Linked DNA regions of Homo sapiens: all the other regions are linked to region 1. Evidence: promoter capture Hi-C in 16 types of primary human blood cells and fetal thymus (Javierre and others, 2016). All regions are on one chromosome and are shown on one strand. Each heading gives the region's core, a stretch centred on a gene start or on the middle of the fragment in contact. The rest is flanking DNA. Distances are from core to core; before and after follow the strand shown. Region 1 holds the start of PRECSIT (p53 regulated carcinoma associated Stat3 activating long intergenic non-protein coding transcript). Region 2 overlaps NAXD (NAD(P)HX dehydratase). Region 3 overlaps ING1 (inhibitor of growth family member 1).

The links. The method cuts DNA at HindIII sites, captures the fragments that hold promoters and counts their contacts. A CHiCAGO score of 5 or more calls a contact.
Region 2: a contact is called between a fragment that was not itself captured here and the fragment with the promoter of PRECSIT in region 1, in 1 of 17 cell types (naive B cells). The highest score is 5.2, in naive B cells.
Region 3: a fragment that was not itself captured here is called in contact with the fragment with the promoter of PRECSIT in region 1 in 1 of 17 cell types (endothelial precursors); the score reaches 6.5 in endothelial precursors.

What each region holds. Positions count from the first base shown.
Region 1 is chr13:110,868,412-110,872,228 of GRCh38, reverse strand. PRECSIT (p53 regulated carcinoma associated Stat3 activating long intergenic non-protein coding transcript) reads left to right here and starts at 1,921. Exons shown (of 1, transcript NR_027701.1): 1 at 1,921-3,817. RefSeq lists enhancers at 1,621-2,820, 2,178-2,864. The HindIII fragment of the contact is 3,703 bases long and covers 1-2,700 here.
Region 2 is chr13:110,631,859-110,635,675 of GRCh38, reverse strand. It overlaps NAXD (NAD(P)HX dehydratase), which reads right to left. Exons shown (of 10, transcript NM_001242882.2): 6 at 1,081-1,131; 7 at 900-1,004; 8 at 88-208. Among named protein-coding and RNA genes, the nearest start is that of NAXD-AS1, 17 kb to the right of the region's middle. RefSeq lists enhancers at 1-623, 624-1,453, 2,448-3,110. The HindIII fragment of the contact is 6,807 bases long and covers 1-3,817 here.
Region 3 is chr13:110,715,286-110,719,102 of GRCh38, reverse strand. All of the region lies in intron 1 of ING1 (inhibitor of growth family member 1), which reads right to left. Among named protein-coding and RNA genes, the nearest start is that of ING1, 3.5 kb to the right of the region's middle. RefSeq lists enhancers at 2,597-2,686, 2,556-3,249, 3,427-3,596 and silencers at 2,977-3,026, 3,057-3,336. The HindIII fragment of the contact is 364 bases long and covers 1,712-2,075 here.

The DNA of each region.
Region 1 (3,817 bases), core at 672-3,171:
CGTGCAGGGGAGGGCAGGGGCCTCTCCACCAGGCACTCTGAGGAGTGCTCACCCCCCGCAGGGAGAGGCGGGAGGGACGGGGAAGGGCAGAGGACACATCAGGTTTTTCATCTTACTGCGTTTTTTTTAAAACAGGAAGATCTGAAGCCAACTACATTCAGCAAGTTTTCTTAAGAACAAAGTAAGAAAGATAAACCAGAACAGCCCTGCTTGGCTTATCCCGGCCTCGCCTTAACCCTCCCTTCCCTGCCGTCTTTCTGTGGCTCCCCTCTGCCAGGTGCCCCCTGAACTTTAAGATTCCAGGATGGTTTGAGAACAACTTCGATGTTTCTGTTTTCCCATTTATGAAGGCTACTGTGCTCTCACCAGTGAATTTAATTACAAGATTTTTAGAAGCAGCTAAAAAAATTGCAACTCAGATGCATCAGTGAATCAGTCCTATTCCCTGTCTGCTAAAGGATGTCTTTTCGTTACCATCATCTGCCGCAGGGCTTTTCTGACAGTTCATATAATTCAAGATAATTGAAGCCAATTTTGCAAGCAAAACGACAGGAACCACTACATGAAATAGCACATCAAGTCTCTGATTCACAACAATGGCACTATTTCCTCAATGGTTTTAAAATTCTCTTGGCTAGGCGTAGTGGCTCACGCCTGTAATCCCAGCACTTTGGGAGGCCGGGGCGGGCAGGTTGTTTGAGCTCAGGGGTTCAAGACCAGCCTGGGCAACAACGTGAGACCCTGTCTCTACAAAAAATACAAAAATTAGCTGGGCTTGGTGGCGCATGCCTGTAGTCCCAGCTACTTGGGAGACTGAGGTGTATCAATTGAGAAAAATGACAAGACAAGTCTCAATCATTTTAGGAGGTTTACTCGCCAAAGTTAAGGACGAACACTCGGGAGACAGTCTGTACCTTTCTCCGAAGATGATTTTGAGGGCTCCAAATTTAAAGGGGAAAGGGTGAGATAATGACAAGTACACAATTTTCATCTAAGAGGCGGGTAGAGAAAAATAGTCATGCGTTTGGCTCATTGAATCTGCATTATTTTTACACAAGATGACTTAGACAAAGGGGGCAGGGGAACAATCAGGTTTGCATTTGTGTCTGGCGGGCAGGGGTTGACTGCACCTGTAAAGATGAGCTATCGATTTGCATTGCTGTGGTGAAATCTTAACAGAAACACCTTACAGTAAAGATTGCGGAGCTCACTAGGAATTTCCTTGTGGACAAAATATAGGGGAGGTGTGCAGTTTTTCATCTTGCAGCATCTTATTTAGGGACCAAAAGGGGAGGCAGGTTTGCATGACCCAGTTCCCAGCTTGACTTTTCCCTTTGGCTTGAGTTTGGGGGCCCAAGATTTATTTTCCCTTCACAGGTGGGACGATGGGTTGCAGGGAGGATGGGAGCCTGGGAGGCAGGGTTGCAGGGAGCCAAGATCATGCCACTGCACTCCAGCCTAGGTGACAGAGTGAGATCCTGTCTCAAACAAAACAAAACAAAACAAAACCTCTCTCTGGAAGAGAAAGGAGGGACTGTGAAAACAACCGAGGGAACAGGCAGCTTTCATTACCAGCAGCATGGGATCCTCGCCCAAGGCCGAGAAAACACAGGAGTGAAATGACAGCTATAGAGGTACACTCCGCAGGCTGCATGAAAAGGACAAAAACAGTAATATACACACCAGTAAGGAACGGCATTGGCATGCTCCGCCTCCTGTGGGCAGCCTGGGGATGAGGTCATTTTCCAAAACAGGGAGCTGGTCAGCATTTTCCATGCCCAGGGCAAGTTCCCCTTGATGGACAGCACCTAATGACCAGCGCTGAGTCAGTCTAGGAGCAGAAAGACTGGAAACCCTGGAGTAGGGGCCACGTCAGCATGACTCACTCAAGCAACGGCAAATTCTCACAGCAACAACATGAAACGCCCTCCAGGGTGATGACTGTGGGAGCAAAACTGACCGGAACCTGGGCGGTGCATGCACTGTGCACCCTCCTGGTTAACAGCCCCACGGCCCGAGAGCTGTGCTTTACATGAATGTCTTCTGTTAAAGCAGCTCGTGTGGCTTCTGCACCCTGGTGGAGCCAACACACGTGCCTGTCACGGAGGTGAGGAGTGAGTGAGTTCTCACCAGCATTTGACGCTGACCTTCCGGAGACATGGCGTCCCTGAGAGCCTGCAGCCTGCCAGAGCAGAGAGCCACCCGCTGGCCGTTCTGTTGGAATTTCGGAGTTCCTGTCTTTCAGGCAACATCTGCCAAGCGCGGTTTGTGTAAGGAAACCCATTCTGTCGTGTCTGCCGGGGCCCAGGGCGGCTGCTGTGCGGGAACCAGCTTTTGTGGCCCATGGAGCAACGACTCAGTCTGGGGCTCGGCTACTCTCCGGCCCGGGGTACTGGCATTTCCCTGGGGCCCATGGGGCGAGTGCCCCTATTTTTCCCATGAGGCCTCAGCCAAGAGGAGGTTCGGGAAGAAAGGAAAACACAGGTGAGGAGAGAGAAGGGCGGGCAGAGAGGTACCACGCCATTAGTGCTGATGGGGAGAGGCGGCTCCAGCCCGGCACTGCTGTCCTTACGAGGCATGTTTCCTTTTTATTCGGAGGAAGAGAAGCAGAGGAACACGTCATGGAGACGGACCGAGTTGAAGGAGCCAGGGATGGTGACAAGCGGAAGGAAGTGTGTTTTGTCCCCATCCAGGGAAGCTTTTGTTTCATGAGACTTACTTGCGCACGTCTGGTAGCTGCCCTGGACATTCATGGACTTTCGTTTTCACTCAGATTTTGTGGTTCACGTGACACAAAGCATGAGGACATCACTGGGCGAGAGGGCCAGGTCACCCCACTGCCGAGGGGCACGCCCCAGCTGTGCACCGCTAGAGTGGGCTTGTCCAGTCCTCGGACACGGGGACAGGGTGTGCCCATCTCATGTAAGACATGAATAATAGTAGAAATTTCTGTTGCATGAGAACTCTCTGCATTATCCTCACCATTTTCCTGTAAGCGTAAAACGTCTAAAACTTTTTTATGAGCACACTAATTCCTCACTTAAGGTCGTCATTAGGTTCTTGGAAATGGCAACTTTAAACAAAAGGACAGACAGCAGGTCCTCAAATAACATTCTTTCCTTCAACATCATTTCATCCTAAGGAGAAAAAAATGGATTTTGTTACATATCCTGGTTCATTTCCAAGAACCAGGTGGGCATAGAATTGACCAAAGGTGGAGGAGAACAGATGTGCGGCTCCGTCCTGGCTGTGTGGCTCCGTCCTGTGGACTAATGCGTGTGGACAGTCAGGAACACTTTCAGGACAATGTGGGTGGCCTGCCAATGGGACCTATTCCAGAGGTCTGAGAAGAAACCGTTGTTTAACCTAGAATCCTGCTAGGAATCAAACTAGCTTTGACAGGAAAAGGAAAAAGAATGAGGACTCTGAACAGGGACAGACTCAGAACAATTCTTATCCACTCATAGTTTAGGAAATAATCTTACAGCATGTGCTCCACCAGGGTCACCAACTGTCCCAATTTGCTTGGGACTGAAGGTTTGTTTGTTTTTGTTTCTTTGTTTTGAGACAGAGCGTCTCTCTCTGTTACCCAGGCTAGAGTGCAATGGCGTGATTTTAGCTCACTACAACCTCCACTTTCCAGGTTCAAGCAATTCTCCTGTCTCAGCCTCCCTGAGTGGCAGGGATTACAGGAACCCACCACCATGCTGGCTAATTTTTCAATATTTAGTAGAGATGGGGTTTCACCATGTTGGCCAGGCTGGTCTCGAACTCCTGACCTCAAGTGATCCACTTGCCTCAGCTCCCAAAGTGCTGG
Region 2 (3,817 bases), core at 425-2,924, 240 kb after region 1:
GGGAGAGGTCTTCCAGGGCTCATGCTCGGTGTGGCCATGCTGACTGACCTGGCACTGGCCCATGCACAGAGGGCAGCCGCCACTCACCCTGCTGGCCGTTGGAGAGGATGTCGCGCTCTCCTTTCTGGACCACCGTCACGTTGCCCAGGGCTTGGCTGAGTCTTAGCACAGATCCATGGCTGTCATCGCTGTCCATAGGGCCTCTGAGCTATGACAACACAGGAAGACAGAGAAAAAGCAAAGTCTTCCTCAGACACACGACGACAGATAGCCCTGTCCCATCCGCCATGAGACTCATGCTCTCGTGTCTAAAGGGATCACCCAGGCACCTGTTAAAGGCCATGTAGGTGGGAGGATGCCCAGGATATCACCTGCAGTGAGTCCTCCGAGCAGGTGCTGACACGGTGCCTGCTCCAGTGCCCATCCTCTACCTCATCAGAGCAGGCTGAAGGAGGACCACCCAAGACTGGGTTCTGAGAGCTTTGCAGGAGTAATACAAATTCCAGTCGTACTGGGCACTAACATTGATGGGACACTTACCATGTGGGGACTCACGGCTTTACATAGGTTTCCTCATCTCATCCTCACAACCCCGTGAAGCTGATGCCATCATCACATTACAGATGAGGCACTCAGGACACAGACAAAGTGACCTGTCCAGAGTGCACTGCAGGAGGGGCTGACTGACCCGAGTCCCTGCCTGTCCCAAGCCCACTACACCATCGTTCATCCAATCCAAGCGCATTAATGGGAAGACGCGCCATCCGCTGGGAGAGGCACAGCGATTACTTGCAGGTGTGTCCACAGGGACAGGCTGGGCAGAAGCATGGAGCTCGTCCTTCACCCTCTTCAGGACGAACAGGGCTTGCATCTACCCTCCAGGGGGTCCACTGACTCACCACAGCGTCATACAGTCTGCTGAACTCCACGTGGTTGGGAGTGAGCACAGCCTTCCGGTAGCCATGGATGAGGGCCGGCTGCTGAGCGACCAGCCACAGGCCATCCTGCACAGAACAAGGAGCCGTGCTCACTGCACAGGCCTTCCGGGAGTCCGAGCCAGGAGGAGAGAAGTCAACTCACCGCGTCGATGACAACAGGGATGTCCCTGGCCTTTGACACTTCCAAAATGCCCTGCCAGAAGAGAAAACCAGACTGAGCACCATGCCTGCTGCTATGGTGTGGGTATGTGTCTTCTCAAAACTCATGGTGAAACTTAATTGCCAAGGGAAGGGTCCTGGGAGGTGGGGCCTTTAAAAGGTGATGTGGCAGTGTCCTCATGGGTTGGTTTAATGACCTTTAAAAGAGGCATAAGGGTCTCTCTCCTGCCCTTCTGCCCTCGCCAGATGCCGGCACCTTGATGTTGGACATCCACCTTCAGAACTGTGAGCCAGTAAACGCCTGTTCATTATCAATTACCCAGTCTGTGGTACGGCTACAGCAGCGCAAAACCGACTAAGACACTTTTCCCAAGAGTGACAGAAAATTGAGCAGACTCTTAATAAAATGCAACATCAGGCCATCAAACAATAAATGGAAAATAATCAAGTAAATGAATAAAATAGAGAAGCAGAAAGACCCAATGAACTCGCAGAGCCCGTAAACAAGGCAGGACACTGGGAACTCTGAAAGGCGAAGCCCACTGGAAACGCTATGAACAACAGCTGGGCTCCTAGGCTAACCCATGAAGACAGCCCCCGCCCCAGCAAGGGCATCCAGTTCTCCAACAGATACTAATACGCAGCATTCGGAGGCAGGAAATCTGAATTCCTGAGAATTCCCCAAATCATTAGTCATTATGTATTTTTCATATCACTTTACTTACACGTTTTAAAATAACAACAATAATAAACAGGGAATCATTTTTCCCTGATAGGATTACAGTGAAGGTTTCAAAGGTTTTCTATTAAAAAAAAAAAACTACATGTATAGATACACACACATATATGTAATATTTGGTGGTTTTTATTATTATGAGCCAATACATTGTGACAAGATTATACACTGCAGTAGCATGTAAAGTGATCCTGACTTGACAGACACCTGATAATACAAAACATTAAAATAGAAAACATTAAACAAAATGAGAGGTGACAGCATGCTGGCAGTCCTCAGAGCCCTCGCTTGCTCTCAGCACCTCCTCTGCCTGGGCTCCCACTTTGGCGGCATTTGAGGAGCCCTTCAGCCCACCACTGCACTGTGGGAGCCCCTTTCTGGGCTGGCCAAGGCTGGAGCCCACTCCCTCAGCTTGCAGGGAGGTGTGGAGGGAGAGGCGCGAGCGGGAACTGGGGCTGCCTGCAGCGCTTGCGGGCCAGCTGGAGTTCCGGGTGGGCGTGGGCTTGGCGGGCCCCGCACTCGGAGCAGCCGGCCAGCCCTGCTGGCCCGGGGCAATGAGGGACTTAGCACCCGGGCCAGCGGCTGCAGAGGGTGTACTGGGTCCTGCAGCAGTGCCAGCCCACCGGCACTGTGCTCAATTTCTCACCGGGCCTTAGCTGCCTTCCCGCCGGGCAGGGCTCGGGACCTGCAGCCCGCCATGCCTGAGCCTCCCACCCCCTCCATGGGCTCCTGTGCGGCCCGAGCCTCCCCGACGAGCACCACCCCCTGCTCCACGGCACCCAGTCCCATCGACCACCCAAGGGCTGAGGAATGCGAACGCACGGCGCAGGACTGGCAGGCAGCTCCACCTGCAGCCCTGGTGCGGGATCCACTGGGTGAAGCCAGCTGGGCTCCTGAGTCTGGTGGGGATGTGGAGAGTCTTTATATCTAGCTCAGGGATTGTAAACACACCAATCAGCACCCTGTGTCTAGCTCAGGGTTTGTGAGTGCACCAATCAGCACCCTGTGTTTAGCTCAGGGTTTGTGAATGCACCAATCGACACTCTGTATCTAGCTGCTCTGGTGGGGCCTTGGAGAACCTTTATGTCTAGGTCAGGGATTGTAAATACACCAATCGGCACTCTGTATCTAGCTCAAGGTTTGTAAATACACCAATCAGCACTCTGTGTCTAACTCAGGGTTTGTGAGTGCACCTATCGACACTCTGTATCTAGATGCTCTGGTGGGGCCTTGGAGAACCTGTGTGTCGAAACTCTGTATCTAACTAATCTGATGGGGACGTGGAGAACCTTTGTGTCTAGCTCAGGGATTGTAAACACACCAATCAGTGCCCTGACAAAACAGGCCACTCGGCTCTACCAATCAGCAGGATGTGGGCGGGGCCGGATAAGAGAATAAAAGCAGGCTGCCCGAGCCAGCATTGGTAACCCGCTCGGGTCCCCTTCCACGCTGTGGAAACTTTGTTCTTTCGCTCTTTGCAATAAATCTTGCTACTGCTCACTCTTTGGGTCCACACTGCTTTTATGAGCTGTAACAGTCACCGCGAAGATCTGCAGCTTCACTCCTGAAGCCAGCGAGACCACGAGCCCACCGGGAGGAACGAACAACTCCAGACGCGCTGCCTTAAGAGCTGTAACACTCACCGCGAAGGTCTGTAGCCTCACTCCTGAGACAGAGACCACGAACCCACCAGAAGGAAGAAACTCCGAACACATCTGAACATCAGAAGGAACAGACTCCAGACGCGCCACCTTAAGAGCTGTAACACTCACCGCGAGGGTCCACGGCTTCATTCTTGAAGTCAGTGAGACCAAGAACCCACCAATTCTGGACATAAAAATACATGCTAAGAATAATTTAAAGTATTGAAAACTAAAGCCGTGTATATTAAATGAAATTTGAAAGCTGACAAAGCATTAGCTGCTCGCCTAACAAAGTGCTCATTTCAGCCTGTTTATGACGCACATTCCAGCCATAGGAAAGT
Region 3 (3,817 bases), core at 644-3,143, 150 kb after region 1:
AGCCCACCAGCCACAGGCTCTCCCGGGCCTATCTGTTCCTGTGCTAACCACAACACAACACAACACAACACAACACAACACAAATGCCGGCCCAGCTTCCACAGCGGCAGGAGCCGCTCCAGCCACCCCAGGGAACCTGAGAACAGTTCCCAGGCACGCACGGGTGACAACGCCCGAAGCCATTAAGAGGAAACGTTTAAATGAGGTGCAGTGCTCGGGACCCAACATTTATTAATACTTTCTATTAATGACTATGTCTATACTGCCATCATTTTTACTCAAATGTTTCTATTTGAATACAATTATTAATATACATATAACATTATATAAACATGGTATTTATTACATTTATACACAATATACAAACATTAATAAAATATATTATAAATTATTTGAATATTTCAAATAAAAAAGGTCTTTATTTTCTTTATTTTAATATACCAACATCTAGAATACCCTGTTAAATGAGAGAATGTGTATAAATTTATATAATAGCTCTCTATGATTTAAAGAACCGGGTTAACAGTAAAGGTCCAGGATACTTTGTGACTTAGGTCCTCAGTTTCAGTCCCCACATTTATTCTAGCATGTTATCCCTCTGTATTAGTGACAGCAAGAACAGTTCTGCCACAATAATCCAGAAAACCTAGCTTTGCTTTATTATTATTACGACTTGTTATTATTTTGGAGACAAGGTCCGTCTCTGTCGCCCAGGCTGGAGTGCAGTGGTGCAATCTCGGCTCACTGCAGCCTCGACCTCCCAGGTTCAAGGGACCCTCCCACCTCAGCCTCCTGAGTAGCTGGGACTACAGAAGCACCACTGTGATGGGCTATTATTATTATTTTTTAACTGCAGTGAATGCACTAGCCTTGCTTTAAAGCGAAGCTGGTAGGTTTTACTTTTGCATCTACTGCTTAAACAAAAACATCTTCACATCTGTTAAAGTCAATGGACTTTAAAATGTTATCAAAAACAAAAGAAAACCTCTTCAGTATTTAAATGTAAACCTTCCTGGGCATGTTAGAGGACAGTGTATATGATTTTAAAGTGTAATTTGGCAAGTGTAATTAGGCAATTTCTCAAGAAACAAAAGCTATTAAAAAATCTAGTTGAAGTAAACAGCCTTGCTAAAAAGGCTACTTAAATACACAGAAATTCCAGAGTTCTTTTTCCTCAAACAGTAACCATTAAATTAAACAGTACCAGATTATTCTCCTAAAACCTTTTTGCAGTCTCTTTAAACAAGGCAACAATACTACCTTTTTTTGTTGTTGTTGAAACGGAGTTTCACTCTTGTTGCCCAGGCTGGAGTGCAATGGCGCGATCTCAGCTCACTGCAACCTGCCTCCCAGGTTCAAGCGATTCTCCTGCCTCAGCCTCCCGAGTAGCTGGGATTACAGGCATGTAATACCACGCCCGGCTAATTCTGTATTTTCAGTAGAGACAGGGTGTCTCCATGTTGGACAGGCTGGTCTCCCAACTCTCGACCTCAGGTGATCCGCCCGCCTCGGTCTCCCATGGTGCTGGGATTACAGGAGTGAGCCACCGTGCCTGGCCAACAATACTACTTGTAAACTAGGGGAGGGGCTGAGAGTGGGAGGGATTGTCTAAAATGTTACCCCCTTCCTTTCCAGATCTTATCTCCAAATAGTTATAAGACATATACCTAACACTAGAGTAAACATAAGAACTCAGGCCAACGCTGAAGCTTCTCTAAATGGTAATATTTTCCAGAGTATATTCTCAAACTAAAGACAGCTTTGAAGACTCCTAGAGGAACAATGCAGGCTGCCTGCCACCAGGAGGAAAGCCCTAGTCTCATATAGTAATTAATTATAAAAATAAATAGCTGTGTTCAACGTATCCAAGTAATACCAATTTATTCAACTTATTTATCATAATGTTAAAATATGTGTACCATTTATTTTTAAATGGATTTAGGGTTACAAAATGGTATCACTTCTTTTCATCAGTAATCAAAGTTCTAAAGACAATATTGTCATTTCACAGAAAACTGTATCATATAAATTTAAAATTTAATAACACAGAAGTTATTTTACATCACAAGCAAGCTTCCATCCAGGTGAAGCCTAATTTGTGGGCAAGAGAAACAGATATCCCATCGCAAAATTACCAAGAAGTATTTCTGTTACCTAATATTTCTTTGATACTCCAAGCAAAGTATTTTATCAACAAAGCCACTAAGTACAAATATTTATAAACAGGAACAACACCACTGCTAAATAGGAAGCCATCCTTCCAGACACTCTGCTTTTTCAATGCCAGCAACTCAGCTTCAGACACTACTGCCTTTTTTCCAAACATATTCCACACCAACATTACCATGGAAAGCAGCAGCACATGCAATTTACAGATTAAATGGGGTTGTAGCAACATTTAAATTGGTTTGTCCAATTATTTTAAATGTATTTTAATTTTACATACGGGTTGCACTGAAGTTCTTTATGAAGCGAACTTCCCAGGGGGTGGGTGGGTATTTTTATGATAATGTTTGAAAAATAATTCAAGCAACCTCAAACACCATTTTAAATCGACAAACTAATTATAATCCAAGTTTATGAATTAACATACAACTGATGCCTACTAAGCAAAAGACGTTTGACTTCCTACAGAGTAGGTCTGTGGAAGTCTTTCAGAACTACGCGGCAGAGCTCAGCATTTACACCGAAGTCCAAGGAGCTGTGACCCTTGCGACAGATTCGCTCGCTTCTCGGCGCTCCCAGCTGCGCCGCTCCAGTACTCCCGGGGGGGCAGGACTGTGATCTTTCCTGAAGCCAAAAAGTTCATCACCCTAGGTGAACATGAAGCAAGCAGCAAGCCAGGCTCTCCCCAGCAACGACAGGAGGACAAAGTGGCTCCATGAACTTTGCTGTCTGGACAGCTGGAACCCTGCACCCCGCCCCGCGCTACTTTTTTCTATCGTCGAACGATCAAAGTGGTCTCAGCCCCTGCCTTCCTTCCGTCCGGAGCCCCAGGGTCACCCCACGGGGCCCGTCCGGCCCGAGGACAGCACCTTCCAGAAAAGTTTCTGCGCCGAGGGTCCCCCTCGTGGACGCAGCCCCAGTCACTCACGTTTCCACGGCCACGCGCGGCCCCACCCTCGGGTCAGCAGAGATGCGGCCTGAAACTGTCTCCGAGCCGGCCCCGCGGGTCGCGGGAGGCGGTCCGAACTGCAGCCCCGGCCCCGAGCCCACAGGCCCGGGATCACTGCTACTGCTATAAATCCGCGCCCGAAAGTGGCCGGGCTGAGCGGGGAGAGGGGCCGGGGCGACACCCGCCAGGCCTCCAGCCAATGGGGAGGAGGCCAGCGGGAGACTCGCCCCGCACCCCGAGAGCCGCCGCCTATGGGAATCGCCGATTTGGAGGGCGGAGGCCAGGAGGAGAACCAACCACACCGCAGGGCGGAAGAGCACGGCCCGCCCCAGCAGCGAGAAGAACCAATCCAAGGCTGGAGGCCGAGCGACCCGAAGACGTTCAAATCAACTCGTCCACCCTCCACCCCGCTCCTCCCCGAAAAAGAAAAAAGAAGACAGCGGAAACACAGACCCATACCAGTTATTGCGCTAGGCCCGCCTTCATCCGCCTCAGCGACCAATCGTTCCGCAGGGGAATGATAAGGACATTCCACGAAGGACATCACAGCCAACTACTGGGGGGCTGAGGCGGGACGTTCCATAATATGCTAATGAAGTTCCTATAAAATTCGCTGCGAAGCTACGTCTCGGATAGAACGCGCAGGGGCGCCTTCCCGGCAGAGGCGTCTAGTACTTTCGGGGATAGCGGTCAATTTTTTTT